2 separate regions of the Homo sapiens genome follow, and region 2 is linked to region 1. Evidence: promoter capture Hi-C in human tissues and cell types (Jung and others, 2019). All regions are on one chromosome and are shown on one strand. Each heading gives the region's core, a stretch centred on a gene start or on the middle of the fragment in contact. The rest is flanking DNA. Distances are from core to core; before and after follow the strand shown. Region 1 holds the start of GHR (growth hormone receptor). Region 2 overlaps GHR (growth hormone receptor).

Region 1 (7,378 bases), core at 1-2,500:
AGTTCTGTCAAAACTTTAAGCCTGGTTGATTTTACAACCACTAGTGTGTCAAAAGCTGGGGGAGGTCGGCTCGCCACAATTTCCACTTACCCCAGTTCATGCGGACTGGTGGCTGTCACTCTACTGACCCCAGTTCCATCGGTGCCAACGTGCGGCTGCGGCCCGCACAAACGCGCAAAAGACCGCGCGCTCTGCGCGCTGTGTCCACGCGCACAGCTCGACCTCCCCAGTCTCTCCAGTCGCGCTGCCGGGGATTCTTCCCCGCGCAACAGCAGCAGCCTCGGCAGTTCCTGCCGCAGCCAGGCAGATGATGGCAAACAGAAACACACTAGCAAAACTTTTATGACTTTAACAAAACTGTCTCCGGAGTAAACCCCTCCACGTACACTACTCGCGGGCCAGAGCAGACGCCAGAGTGTGATGGTTCGTCTGTCGCCCGCAACTCCCTGCCGCCCTCACCAACTTCCAGACACACACACACACACACACACACACACACACACACACACACACACACTAGATTGGGTTACAACAACCCACCAGCAGAAAACAACTTCTTCGCAAGGAGGAGGGGAGCACAGCCAAGTCATCCGGAATAAAAAATTATCCGTGTAAATATATAAGACAGATCCTCCCGTTTTCATAAACAACTAGAGTCCCAGGGTTCACCCTCAGGCCCCCTGGCACAACAGGAGGAAAATAAAGCCAGACTCCCGGAGCCCCACTCCAGTACCTCCGAGCTTCGCCTCTGATCAGAGAGCGCGGGTTCGCGTCTGCGCTGGGGCCAATGGTGCCGGGGCCTCCGGCCCGCGTGGCCCCAGCCCGGGGTCCCCGCCGCCGCCCGGGCTCAGCAGCAGCCGCCGCCGCCACCGCCACTGTAGCAGCTGCTGCTGCCGCTGCCGCCGCCGCCGCCGCTCCCTAGCCCTCCTCCTCTTCCCATGGCTGCGCCCTGCTTGGCAGCTCGCGGGCTGTCAGGCTTGGGGAGGAGAGAGGGGGCGGGGTGAAACGGGAAGGGAGGATGGGAGGGCAGGGGTGGGAAAAGGCGGCCACCGTTCACCAGGGGTCACGCCGCGCCTGGCCCGCAGTCCCCCAGATCCAGGTTGCAGAAGCGAAGGCGAAGCGGACGTTCAAGGAGGCCAGTTCGAGAACTGCTGCGGAGAGGCCGAGTGCCGCCCGGGCCAAGCATTCCGAGTTGCTGGGATGAAGTCTTCCCGGCGAGGAGCTGGAGTTGGTGCGTGTCACTCTCAACTGAGCTGCGCGGCTCCTCCTAGAGGAAAATATTGGTAGTTGCAATACACTTCCTTCCTCTCCGCCTGCCCGTTCCAAATGAAAGCAGGACCTACAAGAGCGTTAAGTGCAGTCCACAGACTCAAAGAAACACTTACAAAAAGGTTAGCTATCTCCAGGAATGAGAGGAAGATCAGCGAGATACCTTGGAAAGCGTGTTTAGCCATCCAAATATTGCCTTTCCATCAACAATCAAGTTCCAAACTCCTGCTCACTGGGGCACAGTGAAAAGATAGTTAAAACTACGAAGGACTTTATTGTGGAGGTTAGAAGACGGAGACAGAGAGAATGAGTAATTTACCAAGGACACTCAGCATGTTAGCAGAGAGGTATCTGCTAGAGGACAGGGATGCAGGGAGAGCAGACACAGGCCCCAGCCTGAAGTTCCTGAGCCAGGAAAAGGGTTTTAACTCTGCCTCACGCTGGACATAGCTCATCTGTCAAATGCGAGCCCTGCCTACTTCATTCACAAGAAGTTGTAAAAGTGTTGCAGAAAGTTAAAGTTGTGCATAAGCATGTCATTTTTGTACAGCATCAAACCCCAAGTCACTATATGCTTTTCTGAGTAGAGAGTACAAAAATCTAGCTCCAGGTTGTCTCAGATCTGAAGGAGTAGCTAGTCATGCAATCTTTCCACTATTTACTGACGGTCAATTGTAATGTCACTTACTTATAAGCTTCTAACAGCTTTGGCTTACTAAAGACTTTTTTTTTTTAACAGAGCTCCCAGACACAAACCCAAGTTTATACCCAGAAAGAAATGTTTAAACAACTTAAAGGAACCAAGTTTCTTTTCTTTAGAATAAAATATCTATAGGGCTTTGAAGTAGTACACGGGAGCCAAGACTTGAGAAGGAACAGAGGACCAAAGACTCTGGGATAGCAGATATCACATAAGATACCCCTATTTTCAAAGGAATCAGATAAGTGAAAAACTGTTCCTTAGAATGCTTTCAGAAGCTCAGCTGTGGCTCAAATACCCCAGCTGTTCCAGACAGACACCTAGAATGAACGAAAAAGGAAAGATTCTGGAAGGGGCGTGTTTTATCATGGGGTGGGATGGTTATTGATCCTGAACTGCTCTTGTTCTATGGCATCTAAAAATAAGGAGGCATTTAGTTCCCCTAAGACTCTTCCCCAAACCATTGATTTCTGGGGCTTCATACTTTGCTGGAGCAATAGTGGTGCTTGGCTGTGTCTGGAGCTTTTAAAAGGGGAGGTACCCATATAGAGAAACTTGGGAAAGTAAAAGATTAGGGCACAGTCAAGAAAAACTCCTGCTGGGTGGTCCATACCTGCCAAGCTGGCTGACAGGGTAGTCCTGGCAGGAGTAGAGACCAGACAGGCCTCAAATGCTGACTCCACGCCTGTCTGAAATGACCTTCCAAGTTGGACCTTCTTCAGAGCCTGGCACTACCAACCTCTCTGTTTATATCCTCTCTGTGCCTTCTCATCCTTTGCCCTTCTTCCCTGAGCTAGAGAATCTTGATCTAGTTTAGGAGGTGCCAGACGGAGTCATAAAAGATATTCTAAATTCTATTGTTTATGCTCTGAGATGAGCTCAGGGCCATACTTAAAAAAATAAGAATTGACTTCTTTTTTTTTTTAAATCTGGGTTCAGCAATATCCTCCATTCTGTGTGCCATGAAACTAGACTACTCTGGCTGCTGCTCTGTCTTTGATTTTTAAAAAGTCATCATGCACAGAAAACATAGGAAAAGACACCTCAGTTAATACTATAGAACTAGATATAAACCTGCAACTGACATGAAGGGCAGTCTTTATTTTTAAGCCTCGTAAGTAAAGGTCCTTCAATCTCATATATGACCAGGTATTGGTCCATAGTAGTATGTGCCTCTTTATATATTCCAAATTGTGAGGGAAAATGTAGCAGGTATTGAGTTGATTAATTTGTTATAAGTTAAGGCATGCCAGAGCACATTTACCTTCTGAAGAATGAAACTGCATTTGCTCATGGTTTCCACTCTGCTTGGAAGATCCTACTTTGTCCACCCAGAGAAATCCTTCTTAATCTTAAAGTTCCAATCAATTGTTTACTTTCTCTCTGAAGGTCTTCCTGACTATTCCCCAGGGTGGAATTAATTAATTCTCCCTGTATCAGCACCTTTATAGGCCTTTATATCTTCTTTTATTAAATATTGCAGTTTTGTTGACATGTCTGCTTTTCTCATTAATTAAGAGATTTCTGAGGGAGAAACTATATATTCTTAATATCTGTACCTGCAATGTCTAGGTTAGTGCCCAGTATTTACAGAGTTTATAAAGCGTCCAATAAATAATCAAATTGAATGAAAAGTTGTATCTCTTGGATTTATATCTCTAACCCAGATCTCTCCACAGAGCTCCAGGCTAACAACTGGGTATCTCCATTTGGATGTCTAACAGACCTCTGAAACTTGACATGTCCACATCTGAACTCTGGTTCTTTCTCCTTAAACATACTCCAATCACAGTGGGTGACATTTCCATCTCAGTAGATGGCAACTACTTCCTGCCAGTTACCCAGGCCACAAACCTTTGAAATCATCCTTACTTCTTCTCTGCCAATCACATTCCACATTCAAAACTCTGTCTATTTTCTTGGAGAGGTCCAGAGACACCTGGTCTGAACCACCAGAATTTCTCAGATTACTGCAGTAGTCTCTCAACTCAACTGGTCTGCTTGCTTTGACAAACCCCACCCCTAATCCCCAACCAACACCAACAACAACCCAAAGTATAAATTCAGTTGCCATAGTCATTCCTTTTAAAATTAATATCATGTCATTCCTCAGCTCAAAACCCTCCAATGGTTCCCCATTCAAATCAGAATAAAATTCAAAATGGCCCATGAGACCCTACGTGAGCTATGTACCTTTGCCCCACACCTCATCTCCCATGAATTTCCCCATCACTGGGTCATCCATTCTGCTCCCAGCACACCGGCCTCCCTGCTGTTTCTTAAGCAGGCCAGGCAGACTCCTAACTTGAAGGCTTTTTGCTGGCTTTTCTCTCTGATTTAAACACACTTCCACAAATATTCATTTGCTTCCTCCTACAGTTCCTTGAAGTCTTTACTCAGATATTGGCTAACTTATCTTGTCCAACCTATTTTACCTTATTATGGCCTTACCTTATTATGGCCCACCCTTCCCCAGTCTTTTATACATCCCCAGTAGGGCTTAGCAAAAAATATAAACTGCCTTGAAGACAATAGAAACAATTAGAAAATAATTCTGATTATATATATTCAAGTGCAGATATCTAGGTCAGATCGCCATCTCCCCAAACCATAAAACACCACAGTATAAACTTCCTAAATCTACAGTTATCTGAGGTTAGAGCATGGCTTTAGTCACTCTGTTGTACTATAAAATGCCAAAGCTTCTTCTCAAAACAAAACAAAAGAGGCCAAAACACTTAAAGTAGCATTTTATAGCTGTTTTGTTTTATAGCATTTGTAGTTGAAGAACATAGGATTGTTAGTCAGGAGCCTTGGGATCCTGTGTGGGTCCTCTGTGATTTTGGGTAAATTAGTTACTAATCTCACAATGACTCCATTTCTTGGCCTATAGAAGGAAGGGGTTGCTCTCTGAGATCATTCAGCTGTAAAATAAAGTATTAGATTGATATTTGTAAATCAAATTATGATATCAAACATTTGTGATAAATTCTAAATTTATTTGAATAATATTTGACCAAATGTCCGGGTACCATGCCCTAGCAAAGTTGACACATTGAGATGGTTAATTTTATGTGTCAATTTTGCTAGACCATGGTACCCAGATATTTGGTCAAATATTATTTTAGATTTTTTTGGCAAAGGCATTTTTATGGTAAGATTAACATTTAAATCAATAGACTTTGAGTAAATCATATTGCTCTACATAATGTAGGTGGGCCTCAATCGATCAGTTGAAGGCATTAAGAGAAAAAAACTGACCTATCCCAAAGAAGAGAAAATTCTGTCAGCAGGCAGCCTTTGGATTCAAACTGCATATCAACTATTCCCTAAATCTGTAACCAATTTACCCTGTAGATTTTTGACTTTTCAGTTTTCACAATTATGTGAGCAAATTTCTCAAAATAAGTCTCTGTATATATATCTCATGAATATGACATATATATATATATATATATCTCATGAATATGACATATATATATATATATATCTCCCTGATTAATACAATATTTACTGGTAAAATTAATAAGATTCTAATAAAATATTATCCCTTTAATGAATTTTTTTTAAACTAACACTGAATTCCCATTCACCATGTTCTTTCATTCATACAAATGTTGGTGAGCCTACACTATGACAGACTTCGTTCTAAAAACTTAGCATGCATCAGGGAACAAAATTTATACCACATATCTACAAAGATGCTGCCCTCATGGGGCTTGCATTCTAGTTAGGAGAGACAATGAACAATAAACATAATAAGTAAATCACTGAAGTGCTGATTAAAGAAAACCATAGCAGGGTAAGAGGCTCAAGAATGTCAGGTAGCAGGTACAAGAGTGCTGAGAATTCCTTCCTTGCCCAGGACTCAGCATATCATGGAATTGAGCATGTGATGCTTGTGAGCACACTGTGAGAGCTCTTTGACTAGGGTACTCTCTTTATCTTAGTCCCCTAGTTCCATCCCACAACTGCCTTGGGTGAGGATGGCAAGGGAATCATGAAGAGAAAAAAATGACTTAGGGAAGTATTTATTGCTTTCCCCCTATATTGGAAGGTAACAGGGAAAATGTTATTTCATGATCTGGGTATTCTTAGCCAAAATTTATGAGGAGGTCCCAGAGCCAGGTGAAAGCTTAAAATTGCCATTTATTGGAAAACAACCTAAGATGGCCAAATAGGAACAGCTCTCATCAGCAGCTCCCAGCGTGACTGATGCAGAAGACGGGTGATTTCTGCATTTCCAACTGAGGTACCTGGTTCATCTCATTGGGACTGGTTGGACAGTGGGTGCAGCCCAGAGAGAATAAGCTGAAGCAGGGTGGGGCGTCGCTTCACCCGGGAAGAGCAAGGGGTTGGGGAATTTCCCTTTCTTAGCCAAGGGAAGCAGTGACAGTCTGTACCTGGAGGAATGGTACACTTCTGCCCAAATACTTCACTTTTCCCTCAGTTTTCACAACCAGCAGACGAGGAAGTTCCTTCCTGTGCCTGGCTCAGCAGGTCCCACACCCACAGAGCCTTGCTCACTGCTAGTGCAGCAGTCCAACATCAAACTACGAGGTGGTAGCCTGGCTGGAGGAGAGACGTCAGCCATTGCTGAGGCTTGAGTAGGTAAAGAAAGTGGCTGGGAAGCTTGAACTGGGTGGAGCCCACCGCAGCTCAACGAGGCCTGCTTGCCTCTGTAGACTCCAACTCTGGGGGCAGGGCATAGCTGAACAAAAGGCAGCAGAAACTTCTGCAGACTTAAATGGCCCTGTCTGACAGCTCTGAAGAGAGCAGTGGTTCTCCCAGCATGGTGTTTGAACTCTGAGAAAGGACAGACTGCCTCCTCAAGTGGGTCCCTGACCCCCGTGTAGCCTAACTGGGAGACACCTCCCAGTAGGGGCTGACAGACACCTCATACAGGCAGGTGCCCCTCTGGGATGAAGCTTCCAGAGGAAGGATCAGGCAGCAATATTTGCTGTTCTGCAGCCTCTGCTGGTGATACCCAGGCAAAGAGTTTCTGGAGTAGACCTCCAGCAAATTCCAACAGACCTGCAGCTGAGGGACCTGACTGGTAGAAGAAAAACTAACAAAAAGAAAGGAATAGCATCAACATCAACAAAAAGCACATCCACACCAAAACCCCATCTGTAGTCACCAACATCAAAGACCAAAGGTAGATAAAACCACAAAGATGGGGAGAAACCAGAGCAGAGAAGCTGAAAATTCTAAAAACCCGAGCGCCTCTTCTCCTCCAAAGGATTGCAGCTCCTTGCCAGCAACAGAACAAAGCTGGATGGAGAATGACTTTGATGAGTTGACAGAAGTAGGCTTCAGAAGGTCAGTAATAACAAACTTCTCCGAGCTAAAGGACGATGTTTGAACCCATCATGAGGAAACTAAAAACCTTGAAAACAGATGAGACGA
Region 2 (6,633 bases), core at 2,815-5,314, 150 kb before region 1:
GGAAACACAACAAATGCCACCCTTCACCTGCCTCCTACCCCCACCTCTCTGCCAATCCTGTGTCCTGCTTGTTAGTGAAAGTTTCTATAAAAACATCCTGAAACATTTCCCCTGTGGTTAAGACATGATCCACCATCTTCTAATACCTGCAATCCTTCCATGGAAATGTGATGCGTACACTGTGAAGGTTGAGGCTTAAGTTAAATTGTTATATAAACAGAAACAGAGATTCCTGATAAATGTACCTGATGAAACACTGTGGCTTCATCCTGGGAACAAGGGACAAGAAAAAATGGATTTGCAGCTGAGGCTGAAGAAGTGCTCTAAGCCCCAAGGCCTCCTGGTCTGTCCAGAAGTTGCCAGACAGGGCACTAAGGAATACTCTCTTCGTAGGGTCAATTGCATCAGATTTCAAAGTGTGTTTATGTTACACATCATCACCGTCTTCATGCTGCTAACTACAGATGATGAGGAAGTTTGCTTTGGGTTTGAAGATGACACTGTTGACAGCATTATTTAACAATCCATGTGAGTATTGCCAGAAAAGTTAAAATGGAGCCACATTGCCTGCTGCTTGGAAAAGACGAAGGTGCACCCTTTTGTTGTGGCTGCTGGTGACTCTGCCTGATGACAAGCTAGGTGCACAGTACTGTGGATAAGCAGGTGGTTACAAGCCAAGTAGAGGCCCCAAAAATGTCTTTATTGATGACCCTGGCCTGCCTACAGTTCTATATCATATACAGTGTAAGGTTAAGGTTTAAAAGGAACCAACTCTCAGTAATAAACCCATTGACTTCGATGCACAGTGAGGAGAAAATCATCAATGGCAAATTCTTCATGAGATGGTTTTCCTTGGGAAAAGCTGCTGGGGTGACTGAGGAATCCTGGGCCCCTTGTTGTAGGGAATGATCTCAGGTAGAGGCTGGCTGGGCCAGTAAAGGCCAACATGGACTTCTGCACAGTTGAACTTGGGTTGGTCTCTAGCCAGAGGTGGACAACCAGGTGTGTCTATGAACAGGTACTCTTTGCCATCACCAAACACCAAATACGTTATGTCAACCTCATTCCTGTCTACCCCATAACAAGAGCCACAATTTAGGATACTGAACCAAAGTGGTGTGGAAACATTCTATTATATAACCAGGACTGGCTCTGTTCCCGTAAGAGCTGGCATCTAAGGCGGAAGACCAGAAATATACTCTATCACTGGCATGTGTGAATTTAACTAACATTCAGGGTTCTGAGTATTCTTGGGTGGTCCCACTCCTTCAATTTACTAATTAGCTGTGGCACAAATCTAATCACTCACACTGCCAGCTTCTTTGTAGGGGTAGGTCACTCATTTTCCGTGGGAGCCTAACCAACCTCCCAGACTCTGCCCAGCACATGGCTCTGCTGTTCTCAACTCATCCTGCATATATTTTATTGTATCCCATGAGTAAGTACATACTCTAGCAATGACAAAATATCTGGGGGATTGTCAAGGTTTTGGGATAGAGTCACACATGTCCAGAGACTACAATGAGGAGGGAGTTCAGACCTTTGTCCTTGCTGTAGACCCTCACTGCATAGTAGCCTGAGCCATACCACAGCCATACTGCAGAGCTGAGCAGACAGCTGCAGGACCCAGGGTAGACACAGGCATGAGGAGTTCAGAGAAATAGTACAAAAGAAGCGTAGCTTAGACACTCTGCTGTCATCCAGCCTCAGCATGTTTCCTCCCCTACAGAGTTGTTCTGTGCAAGTGCCACTTTAGTGCTAATAGGCTGAACTGTGCACCAGGACTTCACTGCATTAAACGTGAGTCATTGCTGATGATCACATTAATTAAAAATGCAGAAACTTAGAAATGGATGGAAAAGAAGGCACTGATAGTTCCCCGAGTCAAAAATCCACAGGTTAATTAGACTCTGAGTACTGGTAATTCTGTCTTCTTAACATCCCCGTGTTTGTGATCCATCTATTTTTTATCATCCCTGTCACACTTAGATTATCTCTCTCCTGACCTATTGTCATCAACTTCCTCCTCTAATTCATCCCTTTCAAATTCACTTTTATCCTATTACTAGTATTACTGACAAAGTAAAAATCTAACAGTATTATTACCTAGATTAAAACCCTTTAATAATCTAAGAGGATCACAATTAAATTATGTTTATTTCTCTGTTTTCTCTTCTAAAGACTGTGAGCTCCTTAAAAGCAGGAATATACATTCAAAATTCTTCCTTGGGCTGGGCACAGTGGCTCATACCTATAATGCCAACTACTCTGCAGGCTGAAGAAGGATTGTTTGAAGCTAGTAGAACTGTTTGGGGCCTGCACAACATAGCAAGTTCCTATCTCTAAAACAAAAAAATGAATAAATGCATGCATGCAAAATTGAATGAATAAATAAATAAATACATGAAATTCCTCCTTGAATCTGTAAAATGACTTAATAAAAGCTTCTTGAAAGACTTTTTATGTGTCATTATCTACATTGGCACCATCTAGATTAATCCAGCTTGCTGTGACCTGCTGAACTCCAACATCAAATAAATTCTGCAATATCAGGAGGACAAGGGGACAGAGGATTGCTGATGTACATGGACGCAGGCCATTGCACTAGAACACACCATAAGATTTCTTCTTGCCTCTGGATTATGGTGAAGACAGCAGCAATCAAAAGCTCTGTGGCTTTTTTCCCCACCTTCACTGTGAATGGAAAGCCTTGAAGTGTTCATTCTTGAACACATTTAACAGATGCATTCATTACTGTTTACTAACTGAAACCATGACTCTAATACTTGTGTGAAATATATCTGACATGTCTTGACATCCTCTCAGAGCTCTGTGGAACCTCAACTGTGGTGGAATAGAGTTTATTTTAAAAAATAAATTGTTGCTGTCTGATAGCAATGAGAACAGGGGTGTCTTTCCTTTCAAGTAAGTGTTTTGTCAGTGTGCATAGGTTTATGAAAAATGTTCAAAATATACAGAAAAAATTATTTTGGGGCTCTTGGTTCCCTTAGGATGTGGCATCTCATTCCTAAGTCTCTTACTTTGAATGGTACAGAATGATATAACACCTTTTGCAGAATTTGAGTGATGTCAATTATGTGCTTTGCCTGCAAGCCACACCTCACTGGTGTGCACATACATATACTATATACATATAGTGTACATATATATACATGTATATGTATATGTGTACATATAGTGTATGTATTACACACATACAAATATAAATATGTTGTATGTAAATATTATATATCAATATTACATGTAGATACTATATATGTTACATATGAATATCACACATATGCACACACACACACTATTCCATCATGCAGGTAGCGCTTTTGTCTGGCCTCCAATATTGAGGACTATTACTGGCTGGATATGGCATACACTTCCTCTTTCTTTTCTTCCTCTCCAAATGCTACCGATTTTTCAAGGGCCCAGCAAGTCTTGCCTTTTCCATAATGCCTTTGCTATCTCTGGGCCTTCTATAATTTGACTCAAACCTACTGACCTAAGTTTGCTTCCAAAGGGAATAATTACAAATATAGCACCTATGTACCACACACCCTGGCCAAATTAATCCTATGCCTTCCACGAAGTAAGTGCTCAAGAAATGCTTGTTGAATGTTAAATGCATAAAATAGAACCATCCATTGACTAGCACAGTAAGTGAATGAATTGTTGTCCATAGACATCTCATATCTACATCTGTACACTTCTGTTTATGTTGTTGCTTTATCACATAAGTTATTCCTGTAATAGCCTTCTGTTCTTCTCAGCCTTTTAAAATCTTAAACCTGACATTCTAGTCTCTAGAGAAACAATGTCAACCTCCTTCATGAAGCTGTAATTCACCACAGCTGAGGTATCCCTCACGTCATCATCACTTCTATAAAGTGTGATTCAAGCCATTTTGATAGTTAATATACAATGCCTGATATTGTAATTCTTGGTGTACATGCCTGATTTATTAACCCATGAAAAGTTCCTTGAGGGAAGAATCAATGTATTCCTCATAGCCATAGGTGCAGGCTTTGAAAATAGGAAGCTCTTAAGAATTATCAGTACACTGAATTTGTTGAATTAACTATTCTAGTCCACCTTGATCTATTCTTTTTCAGGGCATCTTGACCATTTCTCTTCATCACACAATCTAGACTTTAAAGGTATACAGGCTCTCATTAATTTCAAGACATTCCTCATGTCCCAGCTAGACTGAACTACAAGGCAGGGGCTTGCTTACTTCCACCTTAGGTTACTGAGGTCAAAGGGTATATTCAAGGGTAGACTGATTGAAATAGTAGAGATATACGACCTAATTTATAACAGGCACTCCTTGGAAGAATACTTATATCCATTAGATCTTTATGCACATTTCTCATTAGCAACATTATTCCAGCAGCAGCAATTTTGATACAATCAGTTGATAGGTCAACCATGTGAAGCCCTTTGAAAACAAGGCATTGTGGATCATTCCTGATTTTGGAATAAAAAATTCTCCTCTAGACTATGTAACTGGCTTTGAGGAGCAGATATAGAGCTTCATATTAAGGATGAGAACTTCATATTAAGGATGAGAGACAGAAAACATCTATTACAACACTTTAGCTAACACAATAACGGCACTGTTCAAATTTAGTTCTCATTAAATTTCCCACAGGGCAATTAGATTTAATAAAAAAAAATCCTTTCAGGGCCAGTATATTTCTAATTGCTCATCTGCCCAAGCAAGAAAATCCCTGCTCAAGTGCTACCCTTCCCTACGCATACAGGTCTGTCATCTTCTACCAGCTCCTGGGTGACTTTTCTCCAGGTGATGCTTCCAAGATCACTTACCCATCAATGCCACATCTTTCACTGAACAAACTGAATTCAATAGTAGTATCTTTTCTTTTTAAAAATTTAATCTATATTTTTAGTCTGCCTTATTCAATAGGAGACACAATAAAAATAAAATGATTTGGCTACAATCCAGACCTGGCAGAAAAACAAACACATGGTCCATAAATATTATCTGAGACTGACCCATGTCATGTTATGCAGTAACTTTGGCTGAACCCATGAACCCATTCATTAGATAAGTGGCCAGAACTAGAACACACACACACACACACACACACACACACACACACACACACACACAGAGCCAAGCATGCACACACACACTGGAACGTGCTTACATATGCCTTCTTACATAAACATCATGCCCCATCCTTAATCCTTAGACCATTTTAAGAAAGGATTCTGGAATATGCACATATTCCAAAGGAAAAAGAAATATTGGTTAGTTCAATAAGACAAAAAAAAAAGAGACAAAAATGTTCTTCTTTGTTAAATTACTTCTTATGCGTAAGTACTGGTAGGATATGTGATTTGTGTTTAGTATAAACTATTGCATTTGCTTATATTCTGCTCTCCCTGAACAAATAAATGAATCAAACAAAACTATTAAAAAGAAAAACAAAAAGCAAACATTAAAAGCAACTAGTGATGTTTTCTCTTCACTCAGGAACTCAAAGTTTTAGTAAAATGTCGAAGCAGCTGAAACAGATGCTCCTTGCAGACTTTCTAGTTCTAAAATGTAATTTGAGCTCTAATCTCTCAGCTGGGGATGCATTTTTAATTTTCTTTAAAGATTTCCTATGCCATACTTTTCATTTCACAAGTTTTTTAAATTCCTCAAATCTTGCCCAGTGGAGTGAAAGTCACCTTAATGAAGAAACGAGAGATTAAGCCACCATGACTTTGGAACAGCAGAGGATCTCAGCTGCAATTCTTTGGCTCAGAACCAAGGTCTAAAACCAGCCATGGGAAAAGCTGCTGAAATGGAGCCTGCAATTCTCTCCATGTTTGACTTGCATAATGTTGACATTATAACGCCAGAGAGACCAAAAAATATTTCCAACAATTATGACTCTTTTCTATAAATATTTTTAAATTGCTTTAAGAGATAAAATAACATATTTTACTCTTCTCATTTTCTAAGTGACTGTGGTCACCCTCAGCAGCTCACTACTACGGATTTATTTTTGGCTAGAAGGTCAGGGAGGACATCTTAAGGCGCTAAGTCTGCTGTTAAACTGTGTTTTCCAACATGAGCTGAATGGTGAGAAGGGGAGTCTGACACTCTTAAAGCAACAACTAAATTCAGTGTCATAGCATGGGAGAAATATATTCTTTCTTTCTTCTGTAGAAGCCCAGGCAAGGAAAAACATCAAGTACTCATTAAAAAAAAAAAAGTCTCCCACCCGTTAGAGAGCACAGTTTTCTTTCTGACAGAAAAGTTCCTCTTCCCTTTCCCTTCTATTACTCTTCCTTGTTTTAGTTAGGTCTGCTATGAAACATAGTTTAAACATATTGAGACTTCTCTACAAGGAGAGGGATATAAAAAAGGGAGGGAGAATTATAGAGATGGGGAAGGAAGCTCATAATTTCTGGGTATATCATTCAACTATTTCAGGTGTCTCTTTCCTCAACTTAGCCAAATGGTAATCACCCAGAGAGTGAGAAGTGAAATTCATTTGAAACCTGCAATTTCTTTTCTCTGAGAATATGATTAACAAGCCTGAATTCTGAGCTCTGGAAATAGATTAGATATCCTTAGTCACAGATGAGCTGAGTGAACAGTAA

Evidence for each region. Contacts are between HindIII fragments. The study calls those that stand out against the background at their distance.
Region 2: a contact is called between a fragment that was not itself captured here and the fragment with the promoter of GHR in region 1, in 2 of the 25 tissues and cell types used here (dorsolateral prefrontal cortex and heart right ventricle).

Annotation. Positions count from the first base shown.
Region 1 is chr5:42,417,311-42,424,688 of GRCh38, reverse strand. GHR (growth hormone receptor) reads right to left here and starts at 1,250. Exons shown (of 10, transcript NM_000163.5): 1 at 734-1,250. RefSeq lists promoters at 1-45, 210-557, 210-978, 1,176-1,276, 886-1,458 and 1 more, cis regulatory regions at 1,081-1,121, 1,459-1,967 and an enhancer at 1,105-1,254. The HindIII fragment of the contact is 10,174 bases long and covers 1-3,318 here.
Region 2 is chr5:42,566,281-42,572,913 of GRCh38, reverse strand. The region is part of intron 2 of GHR (growth hormone receptor); the gene reads right to left. Among named protein-coding and RNA genes, the nearest start is that of GHR, 150 kb to the right of the region's middle. The HindIII fragment of the contact is 7,778 bases long and covers 176-6,633 here.